Regions from separate parts of the Homo sapiens genome. Here regions 1 and 2 are each linked to region 3. The links are contacts of gene promoters, found by promoter capture Hi-C in human tissues and cell types (Jung and others, 2019). All regions are on one chromosome and are shown on one strand. Each heading gives the region's core, a stretch centred on a gene start or on the middle of the fragment in contact. The rest is flanking DNA. Distances are from core to core; before and after follow the strand shown. Region 1 overlaps RPS6KA5 (ribosomal protein S6 kinase A5). Region 2 overlaps PPP4R3A (protein phosphatase 4 regulatory subunit 3A). Region 3 holds the start of GPR68 (G protein-coupled receptor 68).

Region 1 (3,187 bases), core at 163-2,662, 280 kb before region 3:
TAAAGTCCAAGGACAATTTTCTCTCTGCCAGGCACAGGGTCTAGCCCTATCGAATACAAGGCACTAATACTAGTTGCAAGGAATGAGTAAACATGTAATATTGCAGTAACTAACTGCCGTAGCCACATAAGTATTAAGGTAGATTCTTCATCTTAAGTTTCAGCATTGATAAAGAGTAGAAAGAAATAGAAAAGAAGAGAGAAAGCAAAAGAGAACTGGTAATAACAGTAAGAACATCTTTCTTGATGGGCATGTCTCAAGTTCTGAGCTCTTCCAAGAGATAAATTCAGGATAAGTCTTCAGACTTATTCTGTTTACAACTGAAGAACAAAAGAAAACTATCAATAGTCCATCTTTATGACAATAATTAAAAATAAATAGGTAGGGCTAACTCTAATACATGTTCTCAGAAGCTGTCAGGCAAATTTCATTAATGTGACCCTTCCAAAAAACATTTATCATCCCATTGAAATTGACTTACAGTCCATACAATGGAATACCTTATATGATCCTTGTGCCAATGATTTGTTTCTTGATTAAAAGAAATGTCATGTAAATGATTATATCTTAATTCCTTTGTATTTCTTAAATGGTCTTCTTTATATGTAGGATGACTAATATTCTATAACTGCAAAATATTAATATAAATAATTCTAACTTCCACATAAGATTGTCATGAGGATTAAATGAGCTACTGAGGATTATGAGCCAGGCATACAGTAGGCATTTGTTAAATAATAACTAATAGCTCCTATTATTATTTACAGGCATCAGTTACAATTTATAGACTTGAAAAATACTGTCAAGCTTAATTATAATGACTTAAATATAAAAATCAAATTTATTGTGCCCTGACTTACATACTCAATGTGGTCATAATTTTAAGACTTATGAATGTTTAACATATATTTCCATAAAGTACTACCAGGGTCTAATTACTTAGTATTAAGCTAAAGAGAGATTTTCTTATATAACTGATATTTCAGTGCAATCCTAAGTTTTAAAATTGCAGAGATATCTGGTTTTTATTCAAGTGCAATTAACTTGCTTTTAAAGATTTTTATGTTCTGGTATTTGGAATGCCAGATGAAGCACTCTGATACTGTGTCTCTAAGAAGCATAAAAATAACACAGAAATCACACAAATAATGTGAAAATTCAAAAACATAAAATTTCTCCCATTTTAAAACACACTACCATCCTCCCTAAATCCCACGTGTCCCATCTTGTCTTTCTTCTTTATTTTACTGCCAAACTTCTTTAAAGCGTGGTCTACATGGCTGATGCTCCTTACCCACTGTTCCCTTCATATTGCTGCTATAGGAAGTTACCACAGACTTAGTGGCGTAAACACTATGAATTTATTATTTTATAATTTTGTACACTCGAAGTCTGACATGGACATCACTGGACTAAAATCAAGGTGTCAGCAGGACTGCGTTTCTTCTGGGGCTCCAGGGAAAAATCTGTTTCCTGGCCTTTTCTAGCTTCTAGATACAGGCCACCCACATTCCTTGGCTTCTGGTCCCTTCCCTCATCCTAAAAGGCAGCTATGGCAGCTGAGTCACTTCTCACATTGCATCACCTGACCTTCTCTGTAGACACATCTCCCTCTCACCCTCCTCTCTCCTCCCTCCCTCCCTCTTCCTATTGTGTAAGGACCCTTGTGGTTACATTGGCCCCACACCAGATAATTCAGAATAATCTCTCAATTTTAGAGTCAGCTGATTAGTGGTCTTAATTTCATCTGTAATCTTAATTCTTCTTTACCATGTAGCTCAACATACTGACAGGTCCTGGGGGATTAGAATGTGGGCATCTCTGGGAGGACATTATTCAGTCTACCACAGCCTCTATTCATTCCTTAACATACTACAGTACAACTTCTACCTCCATGATAACACCATAACTTAAAGCTAAAAATAACCTCTTGTTACTAGAGTCAATGAATACTTTTCAGTCCTCATATTACTTAACTTTATGCCCTTTGCAAAGGGCAAAAAGGAAAAGAGTGTTTCAAAGGCAGCAAAATAGCACAAAAACTGCCTCTATGGATCAGCCCAAATTGAGCCCCTCAAAAATGGTTATGTTAACCCACTGAATTTTGGGTTAGTTATGCAGAAAAAGACAACTGATATATTAGCAACTTGTAGATCATGCTTATAACTTAAGTGTCTTGTTCAAGATCACACAGTTAATAACCAAAACAATCTTTTTATTTTAGCAGAATAATAGCCCTTTAATTTAGGTCACACATCTTTCATATTAGGAAAACAATTTATATTTCATTTCAATGACACATAATTTATGCAGATATTTAACAGTAGCAAGTAGATTTCACTTTGTTATTATGAAATAATATTTCCTTCTTGGATTCAGAATAGCAAGCCGTGTGTGTGTATGTGTGTTTGTATGTATATGGAAAGGCAGGTAGAGAATGGAGGAGAGAAAAATAGCCTTTAAACCAGTAAATTTGTTTCTTAAAACAGTAAATTAATTCTGAGAATTTGAACTGAAGATCTCTACAAAATTTCCAAGATTCTTAAGCAACTCATATCATTCTGACAATTAATACCTTATGGAATTAACGTTAGGGTAAAACAGCACGTGCTCTCCATCAAAATTCTGACTTTCTAAGTACATACTGTTGCACAGTTTCAGGCTGCTCGTCTTTGCACATCTGATTTGACTTAACGTTGAACTCAGAAATCTCTCCATTGTTCTGCAGTTCATACACTTTTATTAGCAGATGGAGAAAGTGAAATTCACAGAGACATTGGGTTACATAAGCTTTAAAGTATTACTAAAAACTACAGCCTAAATAGCCCATTTTCCATTTAAGATGCAAAAGGATAACCACAGAAAGGGCTAGCAAGCTTATTTTAAGGCTATGTCTTGCTCGTGCAATTGCATGGAAGTCAGCTTGTAGGAGGGGAAGTCGTAGAGTTAACAGAAATCCTACATCTCCTGCTTTCAAGGAAAGATTCTGTTCTGCTTTCACTCTCCAAACACCCAAACACCTACTTATTTCCAGTAATACTCTGGCTGACCTCTAGACATCTAAGCTTTCTATTTCAAATTCTCCTACTTAGAATTTCTCTCTCTCATATTTCTTCTTAAATGGTGGCACCTTCCAAAGAGCTGTTATTAATTCCCACATGCCCCCTATGATTCAGACCACTTCTCT
Region 2 (3,166 bases), core at 459-2,958, 260 kb after region 3:
AAGAATTAAAAATAAAAACAAAATAATCTGAAATGGAAGATGGAACTTTGCAGGTATACGGCTATCATAAAAACTGAGAGAAATAAGGTAATCTATCTTCCTTAAAGAAAAGCATGGGCCAGGTGCGGTGTAATCCCAGCACTTTAGGCGGCCAAGTGGGAAAGATCACTTCACATCTGGAGATCGAGACCATTCTGGGCAATACAGTGAGAACCTTTGAAAAAATTCAAAAATTGGACCAGGCATGGTGGCTCATGCCTGAGCCCAGGAGTTCGAGACCAGCCTGGGCGACAAAGTAAGACCCACCCCCTTCCATCTCTTAAAAAAAAGAAAAAAAAAATTTTTTTTTAATTACCCAGGCACAGTGGTGTGCACCTGTAATCCCAGCTAGGTGGGAAGATCAACTGAGCCCAGAAGTTTGAGGTTACAGTGAGCTATGATCCTGCCACTGCACTACAGCATGGGCAACAGAGCTCTTAAAAATTAAAAAAAAAAAAAAAAGAAAAGAAAAGAAAAGAAAAAGAGCAGGGTGCGGTGGCTCACCTGAGGTCAGGAGTTCGAGATCGGCCTGGCCAACATGGTGAAACCTCGTCTCTACTAAAAACACAGAAATTCACCAGGCGTGGTGGCAGGCACCTGTAATGTCAGCTACTCGTAAGGCTGAGGCGGGAGAATCGCTTGAACCCGGGAAGCGGAGGTTGCAGTGAGCCGAGATTGTGCCATTGCACTCCGGCCTAAGTGACAAGAGCGAAACACTGACTCAAAAAAAAAAAAAGAAAACAAAAAACAAAAGGGACGTGTTCTTACAACCTATTTTGCCAGCAGAAACCTACTGGATAAAGATGCAATCCAAGAAATGGGCCCAGAAGCTTAGTGGGACATCCCTTTTCCTCTAAAGCAAGGTAGGTTGAGTGCCAAGTTACTCGGTTTTGGAAGGGAAGGCATACAGTACTTACCATGACAGATCTGCTCTGTAACATGAAGGCCACAAGTACTTCCATTTAGAAATTCTCTTCTGTGATTTTTAGACGAGCATATAAGCTCCCCTAACAAGAACTGAGCCTACAGTTGAGATAGCATTATTATAGCTTCCCCGTCCACAAATATAGACCCAATAATGAGAGAATTTTAAAACTACCCAGCCTTTCTATACCCATGCTAACACTATATACATTATAAAATTCCCAAACGCTTTGTCATTACTAAGTAGTGTGTACAGTTTAAAATGAATTGCCTGAATTTGAATCCCAACTCATACCATCTTAATAGATGAATGACTTTGGACATGTTGTCATCCTTTCTGAGAGAACTTATTAAAAAAAAGAAACGCGGCCGGGTGTGGTGGCTCACGCCTGTAATCCCAGCACTTTGGGAGGCTGAGGAGGGCGGATCACCTGATGTCAGCAGTTCAAGACCAGCCTGGCCAACATGGTGAAACCGTGTCCCTACTAAAAACACAAAAATTAGCCATGCATGATGGCAGACGCCTGTAATCCCAGGCTTGAGGCTTGAAGCATGAGAATCCCTTGAACCTGGAAGGTGGAGGTTGCAGTGAGCCAAGATGATGCTACTGCACTCCAGCCAGGATGACAGAGATTCTGCCTAAAAAAAAAAAAAAAACACACACCATTTATTTCACAGGTATGCAAAAGCCCCTATCACACTATCTCTAGCACTGACCACCAAATTAGCTGATAGCCTATTTCTAAGGTGGATGATTAACACATCACAAAAACTTAATTTTACAGACAATAAATACTTGAAAAGTGTTAAGAATCAAATATTTATTTTGTTCTAAAGAAATAATCTGAAAATCAAAAGTTTTTTTGGGGAAAAGCTACAAGTAATTTAGAAAAGAAAAACTTCAACACAATAATGACTAGGTCTAGCCCAAGTATGGAAAAGCGCAATAATTTTAAGTTTCTATTGGACAAATGACTCAATTTATGGAAAATCAGAAATACTTTCCATTTTGCTCATGACAACAAAAAGAAAATATCAATTATCCTATGATGGAGAATGGAGCAAGCACACAATAATGGCTGACCCCAACTGGCAGTCAACACAAAAACATCCATGTAAAGCTTGTAGATAAACTATAATTGAAATTTTTTTTTTTTTTGAGACGGAGTCTCGCTTTGTCACCCAGACTGGAGTGCAGTGGTGCTGATCTTGGCTCACTGCAAGCTCCGCCTCCTGTGTTCACACCATTCTCCTGCCTCAGCCTCCTGAGCAGCTGGGACTACAGGCGCCCGCCACCACACCTGGCTACATTTTTGTATGTTTTTAGTAGAGACAGGGTTTCACCATATTAGCCAGGATGGTCTCGATCTCCTGACCTTGTGATCTGCCCGCCTTGGCCTCCCTAAGTGATGGGATTACAGGCATGAGCCATTGTGCCCGGCCGAAAATATCTTTAGGCTAAAAGTAATTTTCATTTTCTTTGAAATAAACCTTCAGGCTAATAAAGCAGCAAATGCAAGTAGACAGTAACATGGGAGTTTAATATGGTTAATAGCACTAAATCAGACACTGTTGTAAGAATTACGTAAGTCAATATAAGTAAACTGCTAAAAGAGTTTGGCACATAGTAGGTAGTCAGTAAATTTTGACTTATTATCCCTATTTAGATGTGACAAGAAATGTTAATCATCGACTAAAGATTACTGACAGTATTTCACAAGTATCCTGGAATTTTTTCTAAGTCCATGGTGTGTGTGTATGTGTGTTTGTGTGTGACAGGGTCTCCCTCTGTCACCCAGTGCAGTGGCATGATCACAGCTCACTGCAGCCTCCACCTCCTAGGCTCAAGTGACCCTCCCACCTCAGCCTCCAGAGCAGATAGGACTACAGGCCCGTGCCACCGCACCAGCTAATGTTTGTATGTTTTGTAGAGATGGGGTTTCGCCATGTTGCCCAGGCTGGTCTTGAACTCCCGAGCCCACACAATCCGTCGGCCTGGGCATCCCAAAATGCTGGGATTATAGGCGTGAGCCACCGCACCCAGCCTAAGTCCATTCTTTGCATTCAGTTTTCCTTACAGCCTAAATTTACAAGGGCACATCAGTAATTTAGTTAAGCTCTCCCTGCTAGATAAAAATTAAAGTCATTTTGTTTTAGTCATTTAACCTCCAACCTGCAAAATGGAGGAAGAGAGATTTGTGGC
Region 3 (3,421 bases), core at 428-2,927:
TGTCTGTTCTCTCTTTCAACACCACTCTCATCAGCTCCCACTTTACAGATAAAGAAACTGAGGCTCAGAGAGATGAACCAACCTGCTGAAGTCTCTGCAGTTGAGATGCGGCAGGCCAGGTCTGGAACTCGGACTGGTCCATACTTTCCTTCATGCTGTGCTGACTATCATGATCATCCCAGAACCACCACCCTCAAGCCCCCAGCTCAGCCAAGCTCCAGTCCTCACAGATGCTGCAGCAATGGCCACCAGGCTTGGTCCTGGCCTGGCCCCTTCACCTGGACTATGCTTTAGCAGGTCAACCATGTTTTCAACGCCCACTGAGGAAAACCAGCCACGTGGCCAGTCCGTAGTTTGGGAAGGCATTGGAGAAAAGAATCAAAATAACACTTTATTACCCAGCTAAAAAATTGAGAAAAACTATAGAGTGACTCAACGCCTGAAAGCAAATCTTTAGCAAATGCAAATCAGCATAGAGGTCTCTGAGGACTTTAATGACCAAGAGAAATTAAGCTCCCAACAGGAAGGAAAGGCCTCTCTGACTAAGCTAGGAGTCTCTTGCATGTCCCAAGTCAGAAGGCGGAGGTGCCTAAATGCTGGATTCCAGCTGGCACATAAATAGTGATCTAACTCGCCCCCCCTTTCGTGCAGCACACACCGGCACGCACACAGACAGTTACTCATGGTGCCAGGGCTGCTCACGGAACCCCAAACCCACAAGAGCTGGGGAGTTTCCCCAGGGCCCAGCTTCCTTTTCCTTCAGTTGGCCAAACCTCTGCATGCTTTAAGCAAGGCTGTTTCATTTTCTGAAAGTGCTTTATTTTTCCCTCTGAGGAGAGGGGAAACATCAGGATGCATTTTTCCTTAGTCCCCATTTTCCCCCCAGATCGCCTCACTCCAGCAACAACGTGGACCATAGCATCTCACTTCTAGAACCCTTGTCACTGTTTCAAAGGTCAGTCCCATCTGGGCCCACGAAGTCCCTGTGAGTCAGGTGGGCTGGCATTGCTAAGCCATTTCTCAGAACCTGAAGCCCAGAGAGGCTAATGCAGGGAGGCTCAAACTCACACAGTCAGTTGGGGTGGATCTGAATCCAGAACCCACGTGTCTAGGCACCAACTTGCTGCCTTTGAGCTTTTTGGATCACAAGCAATAGCAAGAAATACACCTGACATCGCGACCCAGAACACAGACACACACACACACACACACACACACACACACACACACATCTGTACAAAGCAACAAACTTCCCCAAAGCAATACTTACCCTACTTCTTGCCACGCACTCTGATCATTTCTATTCTATTTCAATTTTTTAAATGCAGGTCATGAGCTATGAAGTTGATTTACTGACCCATGAATGGGTCACAACCCGCAGTTTGGAAACAGCTGGATGGACCCCCACCTGTGCTTTCCAGCTTCTCCTAGAGCCTCAGGGCCCCAGGAAGGCAGTGTGGTCTCTGCAACCAGGTGAGGAGCAGGCAGCTGCTGAAATCAGGATGGAGGGAGTCCTCTGAGGGGGGACTCTGAAACGAGTCCTCTCTGACTCTGCCTGCCCCAGCTAGGCTCTGCCTTCAAACCTCAAACAGCTGGGCTTCCTGCAGAGGCTCTGCAGGAGCCTGGGCACCCTTGCAGCCACGATCCCAGCTCTCCCTCCAGCGACTTCCCGCAGCCTGAACCTCCCAGCTCCGGCTAGAAAATCCCCAGCTGGAGGCTGCCCATTCCCGAGCTGAGGCAGAATCATGTGAACTCCAATCTGGTGTCAGGCTGGGCGGTTGCCGAGGAACCACTCGCCAGCCAGAGGCTGAGGGCGGCGGAATGGCTCTCTCCACGCATCTTCCTCTGCTCTCCATGCAACCCAGAGTCAGTGAGCAGCCTCGCTGGGAATGTGAAAGCCTGAGCTAGGGGCAGGTGCCCTCAGGACTGTGGTGGGGGGATACAGGAGGAGGGGGTGGGCTAATTCTAGCCACCTTTCAGCACCTACAGGATACCGGGATCCAGGCAAGGGTGGGGGAAGCCGCCAACATCTGGGTCACTGGGGCTCAACCCTGGCCATGTGCATGAGAACATACCTGGGAGCCTACAAAAAAAATACCAATGCCCGGGCCCCACCCGGGGCTGGTTAAATCATGTTTCCTGGAAGTGACGTGCCAGCATCAGTGGCTCTAAAGCTCCCTGGACTGTTCTAAAGTGCAGTGAAGGTGGGCAGCCACGGATGTGGTGAAGCAGGTAGGATCCTGTTTGGCAGAGCAGCAGAGCGAAGGCAGTGGAGCTAAGGCTCTGGGCATCAGTAAGGATAGGGCGGGCATCAATGTTTTCAACTGTGTCGGTCCCCAGAGAAGGAATCAAGCCCAGGGCTCTGGCCCCGGGGGCCCTTCTGGCTCTCAGGAGCACTTACTAAACTCCCTCCCTCACACACATAACACGGAGGATGGAAAGGCCCAGCATTTTGGCGTAACCACCTCCCTCCAAGGCAGACTCCTTGGAAGCTGATTATAAGCTACGTTGCCAGAGCCAGGAAGCCAACAGATACGGTGCATGGGGCCACTGGGGGTGCGAGTCCTTCCTGCTGGAAGTGGCCAGAGCCCTGTGCTTGGTCCCTGCTCTGGGGACCAACACAGTTTAAAACACTGATGCCCATCTTATTCATGCCAAGAGCCTTGGCTCCACTGCCCTCACTCTGTTGGTAGGGGGTCTAAGGAAATCCCCTTCAGTGGGGCCTGGGCCCTCCAAGCAAATGCTACCACATAGCAGGCCTTTTAAAAACTATTTCCGGCCAGGTGCGGTGGCTCACGCCTGGAATCCTAGCACTTTGGGAAGCCGAGGCGGGTGGATCACCTGAGGTCAGGAGTTGGAGACCGGCCTGGTCAACATGGTGAAACCCCATCTCTATTAAAAATACAAAAATTTGCTGGGGGTGGTGGCGCATGCCTGTAATCCTAGCTACTCGGGAAGCTGAGGCAGGAGAATCACTTGAACCTGGGAGGCAGAGGTTGCGGTGAGCTGAGATCATGCCATTGCACTCCAGACTGGGCGACAAAAGCGAAACTCCGTCTCAAAAAAAAAAAAGTTTCCTACGTCAGTTGCTTCTTGCAGGCCTTATGTTACGAGCAAAGGCTTCAGCTTGTTGTGGTGCAGTAGCGTGCATTTAGACACACGTGCTACTTCTGAGTTGCGGAAGTGTGGCTGGCTTTCCCTGATGTCATATAGGAGGACGCGGGGTTAGGAGCACAGAACTGACTTAGCAGTGACTGCCTGGCTTACCCCTAGGACACAACCTGCCAGAGAGAGCACCTCTGGCCCTCTACGGGGTGGCCTGTCCTAACAGGGTGTGCACACACCGGCCGTCTACACCATCATCGTCTATACCTGCAGGAACCACTAATGGCATGGTGTCCCCTCCCGCCTCCAGCCCTGC

The links. The method cuts DNA at HindIII sites, captures the fragments that hold promoters and counts their contacts. A contact is called where the count stands out against the background at its distance.
Region 1: a fragment that was not itself captured here is called in contact with the fragment with the promoter of GPR68 in region 3 in 2 of the 25 tissues and cell types used here (bladder and hippocampus).
Region 2: a fragment that was not itself captured here is called in contact with the fragment with the promoter of GPR68 in region 3 in 1 of the 25 tissues and cell types used here (spleen).

Annotation. Positions count from the first base shown.
Region 1 is chr14:90,966,667-90,969,853 of GRCh38, forward strand. The region is part of intron 3 of RPS6KA5 (ribosomal protein S6 kinase A5); the gene reads right to left. Among named protein-coding and RNA genes, the nearest start is that of RPS6KA5, 92 kb to the right of the region's middle. The HindIII fragment of the contact is 3,115 bases long and covers 1-2,970 here.
Region 2 is chr14:91,503,841-91,507,006 of GRCh38, forward strand. All of the region lies in intron 1 of PPP4R3A (protein phosphatase 4 regulatory subunit 3A), which reads right to left. Among named protein-coding and RNA genes, the nearest start is that of PPP4R3A, 4.9 kb to the right of the region's middle. The HindIII fragment of the contact is 3,818 bases long and covers 1-3,166 here.
Region 3 is chr14:91,243,027-91,246,447 of GRCh38, forward strand. It overlaps GPR68 (G protein-coupled receptor 68), which reads right to left and starts at 1,678. Exons shown (of 2, transcript NM_001177676.2): 1 at 1,271-1,678. RefSeq lists enhancers at 206-315, 1,375-1,876, 1,396-1,445. The HindIII fragment of the contact is 47,768 bases long and covers 1-3,421 here.